Regions from separate parts of the Homo sapiens genome. Here regions 1 and 2 are each linked to region 3. The links are contacts of gene promoters, found by promoter capture Hi-C in blood cells and fetal thymus (Javierre and others, 2016). All regions are on one chromosome and are shown on one strand. The core of a region is centred on a gene start or on the middle of the fragment in contact, and the rest is flanking DNA. Distances in the headings are between cores, read along the strand shown. Region 1 has its middle 7.2 kb from the start of LINC01686. Region 2 overlaps RNASEL (ribonuclease L). Region 3 holds the start of RGSL1 (regulator of G protein signaling like 1).

Region 1 (2,700 bases), core at 53-2,552, 170 kb after region 3:
TAGACTTGACAATGTGGAAATGTTATTGAGCCATGTTTCACAGAGCTGTGGGAGCACATGGGAGGGCTTAGTCAGGTGCTGATAGAAAACTAAACAAATAAAAATTAGAGGCAATTACTAACTCCAGGAAAAAAGAAAAACAATATGCAAGAATGTACAGGTAAATAAGATATATTACTTGGCTTAATAGCAAACAATATTTATACAATCACAATAACAAAAGCTTTGTTAACCAGAAATTGGGGGACTAGGGAGCTAGCAGAAAAGAGGAAAATGTACATGATTTTAATATCTTCATTACCATAATAGGAAGTCTATAACTAATGTCTGAAATTAATGACTCAAGAGACAGCCACATACTCTGTGAGTTAGAAATATAGGGGAAGTACCAGATGAATACCTTAACATTGAAAATGGTTTTCACTGGAGAAAGGGAGGTGGAGCAGAGGGGAGATGAATAAGAGATAGTTAATTTTATTATTTTCTTCTACATATACAACTTAAAACCAGTTGCCCAGCAATACTTTTATTTAAAATAAGACTATATTAAATAAATTTTAAAAACAAACACTACTGGTCATGTATGTAAAACAGACACATAAACAAATCGGTGAAGGAAAAAGTTCCAGGTGCTACCTGTGCACAGATAAGGTATGGGCATGAAAGAGAGAGTAGCCAGTTCCATCTTGGAAGAGCCAAGTACCTCCTGACTCCTACTTTCCCTTCTTATCCAGAAACACCGCTGCCTGTGTGCATCTACAGATTTGGCTCTCTTGAGAAAACCTGAGGATTAAGCTAGAAACTCACCAAACACAGATGGAGAGGTGGTGAAGTCTACTGGCCAGGAACTAAGAGCAGAGTGCCAGACCACCTGGGTTTGAATCCTGGCTATGACACTGACTAACTGTGATTTTGGACAAGTTACATACCCTCCTCGCCCTCCTCACATGTTCCTACCTCATAGGGTTATTTCAAGGATTATGTGTTAATGTGTCAAGGGCCCAGAACAATTCTTGGTACATGTAAACATCATGTTCTCTCAGCAGACATGAGATGAACCTGCTGAGTGCAGGCACTGGATAAGCACTGGAGGGCACAAACAACCCTAAGCATGCCCCTGTCCTCCAGGAGATTAAGGAGGGGTGGGGAGTGGTGCAAAAGATACAACTGTAAATAGCATATTATCAGCAATATCGCCTAGGTGGCTAGATGTAGAATGAGGGGGACCAGTTTCCTAGAGAGGTGGCTGTTAAAATTTGCTCCATGAGAGGGTCTGGGAGACACCTTTTGGATTTTGGCCCCAGTACCCCTCTGTAGAAAGTTTCCCTTCCCTTCTTGTGTCCATGTGGTTGCAGCAGAAATGCTGTGCTCTGATAATGTGATCTTGCCTCCTTGACCAGATTGAGCACATTCAAATTAACCTGGGCCAATCCGTCTCTTACCTGGGAATTTTGGACCCCAGGATGAAGGATAGATTGGTTTCCCTCTCAGTGTCTTTTTTTTTTTTTTTTTTTTTTTTTTTTTTTTTTTTTGAGACAGAGTCTGGCTCTTGTCCCCCAGGCTGGAGTGCAATGGTGCGATCTCGGCTCACTGCAACCTCCACCTCCTGGGTTCAAGCGATTCTCCTGCCTCAGCCTCCCAAGTAGCTGGGACTACAGGCGTCCGCCACCATGCCCGGCTAATTTTTTTGTATTTTTAGTAGAGACGGGGTTTCATCATGTTGACCAGGCTGGTCTCGAACTCCTGACCTCGTGATCCGCCCGCCTCGGCCTCCCAAAGTGCTGGGATTACAGGCGTGAGCCACCACACCTGGCCATATCTTTGTGTTAAGACTGATGATGTAAATGTGGGAACTATTGACCATTTTTTGCCATGTGAACTGGTAAACAGAGAACAGTCAGCAAGAAAAGAGAAAGGTAGTACGCAGAGAGAAACTGAAAAGAGGAGGAAAGTCAGGGCTTCTGCATTCCTTAGGGTTCTGCTCACTGTTTCTGCTCACAGATTCCATGGGGTGTTCCAGTATTCTCACCAAAACTCCCTTTTATTCATGCTGGTTTGAGTTGAATTTCTGTTGCAAACCAAAATTTCTCTAATAATAGAAGGGGACTCCCCCACTTCTCCTTCCTGTATAGGCAGCAGAAAAAGAAATCTGACTATATTCCCTGGTCTGGCAAGATGTTCGATAAGTCTAAACCTGGAAAAAAACCCCAAAGAGTCCCTAGGGTTGCATCAAAATATAACCTGGCTCTGGGCCCAGGACAGAGCAGCTCTGGCTTCCTAGCGAAGGGTTAGGACTGTGGGAAGGAATGAAAGGAAGGACCGGAAAGGCTGAGGTCCTGGACTGGAGGGGGAGGTGAGAGCATCTGCAGCTGAGGCGCATTCAAGCTTGAAGTGCAGGGGATGTGGTGGGAGGTCAGGAGAGTGGTATGGGGAGAGGACCAGTAGCCATGGCAACAGGAGGGTCTTCCTTTGCCACTGAGGCAAAGGTGAACTCGGGGGGAGGTAGCCAAGCAAGGTATAGGGAGAGGCCAAGTAAGTGGTGGTCTTTGCCATCCATTGATTGTGTCCTTTCCTGCCCATTGTATGCTGGGCAGCAACATTTTAGGCATGGGAATGAAAGACTCGATTTTTCAGGGACGCGGCTATAGAGGTGAGTCATGGAACTATGGGGTATTCCCATTGTGCTCCCTTAGGTACAGG
Region 2 (2,700 bases), core at 13-2,512, 130 kb after region 3:
ACAACTTGCTAAGACTTCTGGCCTTCATCTTTCTCCCGTGCTGGATGCTTCCTGCCCTCAAACATCAGTATCCAAGTTCTTCAGCTTATGGAGTTTTGGACTTACACCAGTGGTTTGCCAGGGGCTTTCAGGCCTTTGGCCACAGACTGAAGGCTGCACTGTCGGCTTCCCTACTTTTGAGGTTTTGGTACTCAGACTGACCCATCACTGGCTTCCTTGTTCCTCAACTTGCAGATGGCTTATTATGGGACTTTATGTTGTGACCGTGTGAGTCAATTCTCCTTAATAAACTCCCTTTCATATATACATATGTCCTACTAGTTCTGTCCCTCTAGAGAACCCTGACTACTACATGAAAGAATAAGGAAGCAGAAAGAAGAAAGGTAAACTGGATTGTAGAATTTACCTCTAGATCTCTCTTGACTTCCTGTGGATCTCCAGCCCACTTGATGCTCTTATCAAAATCTGCCAGGTGAGCAGCTTTCTTAGAATCTAAGGAAAAGTTTGCAGAGGCACATTGAAAATACTCATTCTCCATAAAGTGAGAGTCAATTGATTTATATAAATATGTAACATGCTATAAAAATCATCATCTCTGTGGAAGGCAATAATAAACCTTATATCTGTATTTGCCATTCACCCCTCAAAACACTGCCATGTGCACTGTTTCATTTGATCTGTTAGGTATCTGCCAAGAGCAGCACTTACATTTTATTTTTTCCAGGCCAGGGGGTAGGAAGGGATGAGGACAAATTTAACCAGCTCCTCGTTCATGCAATTCCAGGGGCCGAAAGCACAGATTTGTAAAGGAGCTGTTCCCTTACACTGAGCTTAAATCTCAGTGCATGTCTATGGATAAGGTATGTACTCTGCTTAGACCTTTCAGGCAAGAACAGCCTTTCCTGAGCACCTATGATGTACCAAATGACTTACTATTTCATCATTGCACTTAGACCTCATAACAAACTTACGAAGGAGGCATTATCAGCCTCAAGTGAGGAACTGAGGCTCACAGTATCAAGTGACTTGTCTGAGGTTACAAAACTACAAACTAGTGAGACTAGGCTTCAAGCCACCCTAATCATCGCTGAAGCCCTGGCTTGCTCCCCCGCACCATATTGCTTCCTGGGACTTTACGGTCAGCCTTGCTTTTCTTTTAACATTTAAAAGAAAATGCTATTTTCCTTCCCTTTGTTTGGCTTGGACTAGTGGATTCTGACTTGTTCTGCCTTGGAGTCTGTGTCTTCACTACGTCACATCTTGTCCTGACATCCTCAACTTTGACCTCAATTTTGTCAGTAAGTTTCATGGTTACTGCCACCTTGTCTGAAGGAACTCACCTCTAGGATTCTCAGATTTCTGGAGCTACTTTGATCCATGACATGCCTTCATCTGTTTATTTTGCCAATGGCAATCTAAGGCTAGCCTGGTATTCTGTTGGCATCTACCAACCTTCATGTAGACTAACAGAACCCAGTTATAATTGGTAGCAGGAGACACTGCACTGTAATTATGAATTTGTTGTAATAATGATCCACAAATTGAATCATCCACATTTACTCTAGGCCTTTCCTCTCTGCAATGAAAAACTTTTCCTATCATAAACAAAGATCCCACAATTTCTAAGAGAGAATTGGGGATTGGGGACTCACCTATTAAGATGTTTTGTGGTTGCAGATCCTGGTGGGTGTATCCACAGGACAAGTGTAGTTCTTGAACAGCCTTAAATATAGATGACAGGACATTTCGGGCAAATTCATCTTCCTCATTTTCCACATCTTCCCCTCTGTGCACATCCAAACACGCTTCCAGAGTCTGCTCACAGAGGGTGACACACACAAACAAGTGGCCCCTGTGGCTCTCACTCCCATAGAATGTCACCAAGTGACTGTTCTCTCGGCTGCTTTGCAGACAAGAGACTTCCCGCTGTGCACGTGGGCTGCCCTCACAGAACGTCTTCACAGCTACTTCTTGCTTCTCATAGAACCCCAGGTAGATGCCTCCTTCTGAAGTATCAGCAATTTTGTATTTTTCATCAATAAAGAACTTGAGTTTGCCAATCATAGGGCGGTATATTCTGTGGAGATCCTTCAGGGCTGCCCCCCAGTGTGAGCTCTGAGGCTTCCAGTCTTCAGCAGGAGGGTGAAAATCTTCTTTGGCTCCATGAGAGAGAAGAACCTTCACAAGGGAATGGTCATAATTCCGCCTCGCTGTCATAACAAGATCCCCACAATCTGTACTGGCTCCACGTTTGCACAGCAACTCGGCGATTTTCTTCAGTTTGAGTTCAACAGCAAGCAGCAGTGCTGTTTTGCCATCACTGTCTGTGTCATTAATCTCTATGTGCTCTTGCTCCAGAAGCCTCTGCACCAAACCCAAGTGCTTCTTCTCCACTGCCAGGATCAGGGGAGTCTTCCCTCTTTCTCCCCTCACATTGACATCAGCCCCATGGTCCAGCAGCAGATGCGTAATAGCCTCCACATCACTATCGTCAGAGCTCAGGAGAGCATGGATCAAGGCATTTCTGCCCATATTGTCACAGGCGTTTACATCTGCCCCCATCTCATCAAGGAGAATCTTCAAGACCTCTACGTGTCCTTTTTCAGCAGCGTCCATGAGAGCTGTGGCCCCTCCTTTCCTCAGCCGCTCTTGATCCTCCTTTGTCTTTCGCCTCAAATTCACATTTGCTCCTCTCTTATA
Region 3 (2,700 bases), core at 14-2,513:
GGCAGCAATTAGGACTCAAGGGTAGGTGCACACAGCTTGATTGAAAACAGTCTGAAAGCATTCCATCTTAAGGAATGTGAGCATATATTACTACTGTATATGCCATTATTTTAGGAGGAGACCTTGACTCTATTTATTTTGCAAAAGAGGTGATAATTCAAGGAATAATATGATATTGTAGAATCATGCAGTGCTTCACACTGAACTCTCTTAAGATGTGTGCATGTTAAACTGACTAATTAATAAGGTGAATAAGGTAATTGATAACAGATTGAAGAAGTATGGTAAGCTACAATCTCATCTTGCAATACATAGAACATCAAGATGTAAAGCAAGAATCTCTTCTCACTAAAATCACTTTAAAATGCAGTATTTGGTCTTTATATATTCTAAAGAAAGTACAGCACTTTTTCAAATGTAAGTGATATTGTATTGACGATTCATTATTAACAATAATCCTTCCAGTTTTCAGTTTTCCCTCCACCCCCCATAGGAAAGCCTTTTGGACATTATATAAGCTTCCCTACAATCCCAAGACTTAAAAGCCCTCTCTGGGTGTGACACTGAAGAATTCTATTCTCAGTAATTCTTGGCTAAAGTTTGAAGGATTATAGGGCTTTTGGTCTCTCATCTTAATATTTACTTCCTATTAGGGAAGAACAGGAGAAATGAAGAGTTGTTTAATGAGAAAACCAAGAGCCTGAAGAGTCTTCAGAGGAAGGGAGTTCAAACCTCTTGGAAGCTGATGTTTTAATTTTAATTTTTTAAAGATGAGGTTTCACTCTGTTGCCCAAGCTGAAGTTCAGTGGTGTGATCACAGCTCACAGCAGCCTTGAATTCCTGGGCTGAAGCAATGGAGGTTGATGTTTTAAATGGGCAGAATATCCAGGAGTTACTGCTTATTAAAATTACATCAAATGTAACCGTTTACAAGACCCTTAGGAGCTGAGTTTAGCAATGCAAAAGTCACCCTAGCATGGGAGAGGTTGGAGCAGACAAGAGATCTTGGGCACAATTATAAAGAACTTGTCAAATAAAATAGTATGAACTAAAGGCTTAAGTATAGGAGGAGTCTTGTATGTCCAAGGGGATTCAGCAGATTAGGTAAGATAAAGACTTATCTTCAGATTAAGGCCTACACCAGAGGTAAGTAGATCACTGCCAGATAGAATCTGGAACCCCTTAGAGAAGGTGTCATTACGTGTTCACAATGGATATAGTTCTATTGACTGGGGGGTAATTCTGCCCCTAACAAATTACTGTGTCAGGAAGAGCATGGCAACATGAGCAGTGCTGGTGAGTCTCTGCCAGGGATGTCTCCAAGGCCTTGAGTCTCTCAAATAAGGCAAACCATTCATCTTCCCAATTGTTAATAGATCTGAGCCATTCAGGGGCACCATGGGTGACTTTTGTGTTATTCATGCCTTTGTTTTCCTTCTCTTTCTCCTTCTTCCCCTTCCTCCTACCTTCTGCCACCAGATCTTTGAGGATAGTACAGGGCCTTATTCATAAGACAACTAAGGCAAGAGGGAGGAAGTAAAATGTGGATTGGGCCACCTCTCCTCCAGAGAGAAGACTGGTATGGGGTTTGAGATTATGCAGTGATTTCATTTGTTGCCAAGTCAATATTATTATGGCGTGGAATGGGTGCTAAAAGCCTTCTCAAATTATTAGGAAGTTTGAAGGCAGAACAGGTAAGAAGGAAAAACAAGAATGGAGAAATGAGAGGATGAGGAAGGGAAGGATGTACAGAGCCTTGTCTCTATATCTCCTTAAGACTGTTTTGGCAATGGCAAGCCCTAGCATAGTCAGGCCCCTTGCCACCAGCGGTGTGTGTAGCTGTGAACAACAATCACTAGGGAATTTCTGCCAAACCCCACTTTTCTGTATTCAGATGGGCTCAGTAATATACTCATTCAACAAATCCATGTTAGACTCTATGAATGATAAACAAACAAAAGTCCAAAAGATTGAAAATCATTGGCTGGGAGCGTTGGCTCACCCTTGTAATCCTAGTACTTTGGGAGGCTGAGGCAGGTGGATTACCTGAGGTCAGGAGTTCAAGACCAGCCTGGCCAACATGGTAAAACCCCATCTCTACTGAAAATACAGAAATTAGCCAGGTGTGGTGGCATGCACTGTAATCCCAGCTACTGGAGAGGTTGAGACACAAGAATCACTTGAATCTGGGAGGCAGAGTCTGCAGTGAGTTGAGATCTTGCCACTGCATTCCAGCCTGGGTGACGGAGTGAGACTTTGGCAAAAAAAAAAAAAAAAAAAGATTGAAGATTATCTTTTGAAAGAACAATTTATTCCACATTTACAGAACTTAGACATTGTGCAAACACTTTTAGAGCCTAGAGGAAGAAAGGTGAAAAAACAAAGTCCCTCCTCTCACACGCTCAGTCTGATGAGGAAGACAGATATATCGATGGATAAAAACAGTCAGACTTGTTAATTGTAATAATGGAGGATATACGTGATGGTATAGGGAGATAGTGATGAATTCTACCATTGCAGTAGATTCTACCTTTCTTGGCTCACCAAGATTATATGTAAACCAGTTCTTAATGGATGACTATTAATTTGTGAGCTGACTGTGCTTAAGAAAACATTTGAAGCAATGGGAATATGGGAACAAAGACATGGAGGTTTCAAGTGAGAGTACCTAGCACATGCAGGAAACAGCAATGCCTTGGC

What was found. The method cuts DNA at HindIII sites, captures the fragments that hold promoters and counts their contacts. A CHiCAGO score of 5 or more calls a contact.
Region 1: a contact is called between a fragment that was not itself captured here and the fragment with the promoter of RGSL1 in region 3, in 1 of 17 cell types (M0 macrophages). The highest score is 5.2, in M0 macrophages.
Region 2: a contact is called between a fragment that was not itself captured here and the fragment with the promoter of RGSL1 in region 3, in 4 of 17 cell types (M1 macrophages, M0 macrophages, M2 macrophages and 1 more). The highest score is 13.6, in M1 macrophages.

Annotation. Positions count from the first base shown.
Region 1 is chr1:182,621,021-182,623,720 of GRCh38, forward strand. No RefSeq gene overlaps it. Among named protein-coding and RNA genes, the nearest start is that of LINC01686, 7.2 kb to the left of the region's middle. RefSeq lists an enhancer at 1,798-1,857. The HindIII fragment of the contact is 2,162 bases long and covers 222-2,383 here.
Region 2 is chr1:182,583,675-182,586,374 of GRCh38, forward strand. It overlaps RNASEL (ribonuclease L), which reads right to left. Exons shown (of 7, transcript NM_021133.4): 2 at 1,653-2,700; 3 at 407-492. Among named protein-coding and RNA genes, the nearest start is that of RNASEL, 4.2 kb to the right of the region's middle. The HindIII fragment of the contact is 3,899 bases long and covers 1-2,700 here.
Region 3 is chr1:182,448,883-182,451,582 of GRCh38, forward strand. RGSL1 (regulator of G protein signaling like 1) reads left to right here and starts at 1,264. Exons shown (of 22, transcript NM_001137669.2): 1 at 1,264-1,296. The coding sequence starts at 1,284. RefSeq lists an enhancer at 1,102-1,709. The HindIII fragment of the contact is 4,233 bases long and covers 517-2,700 here.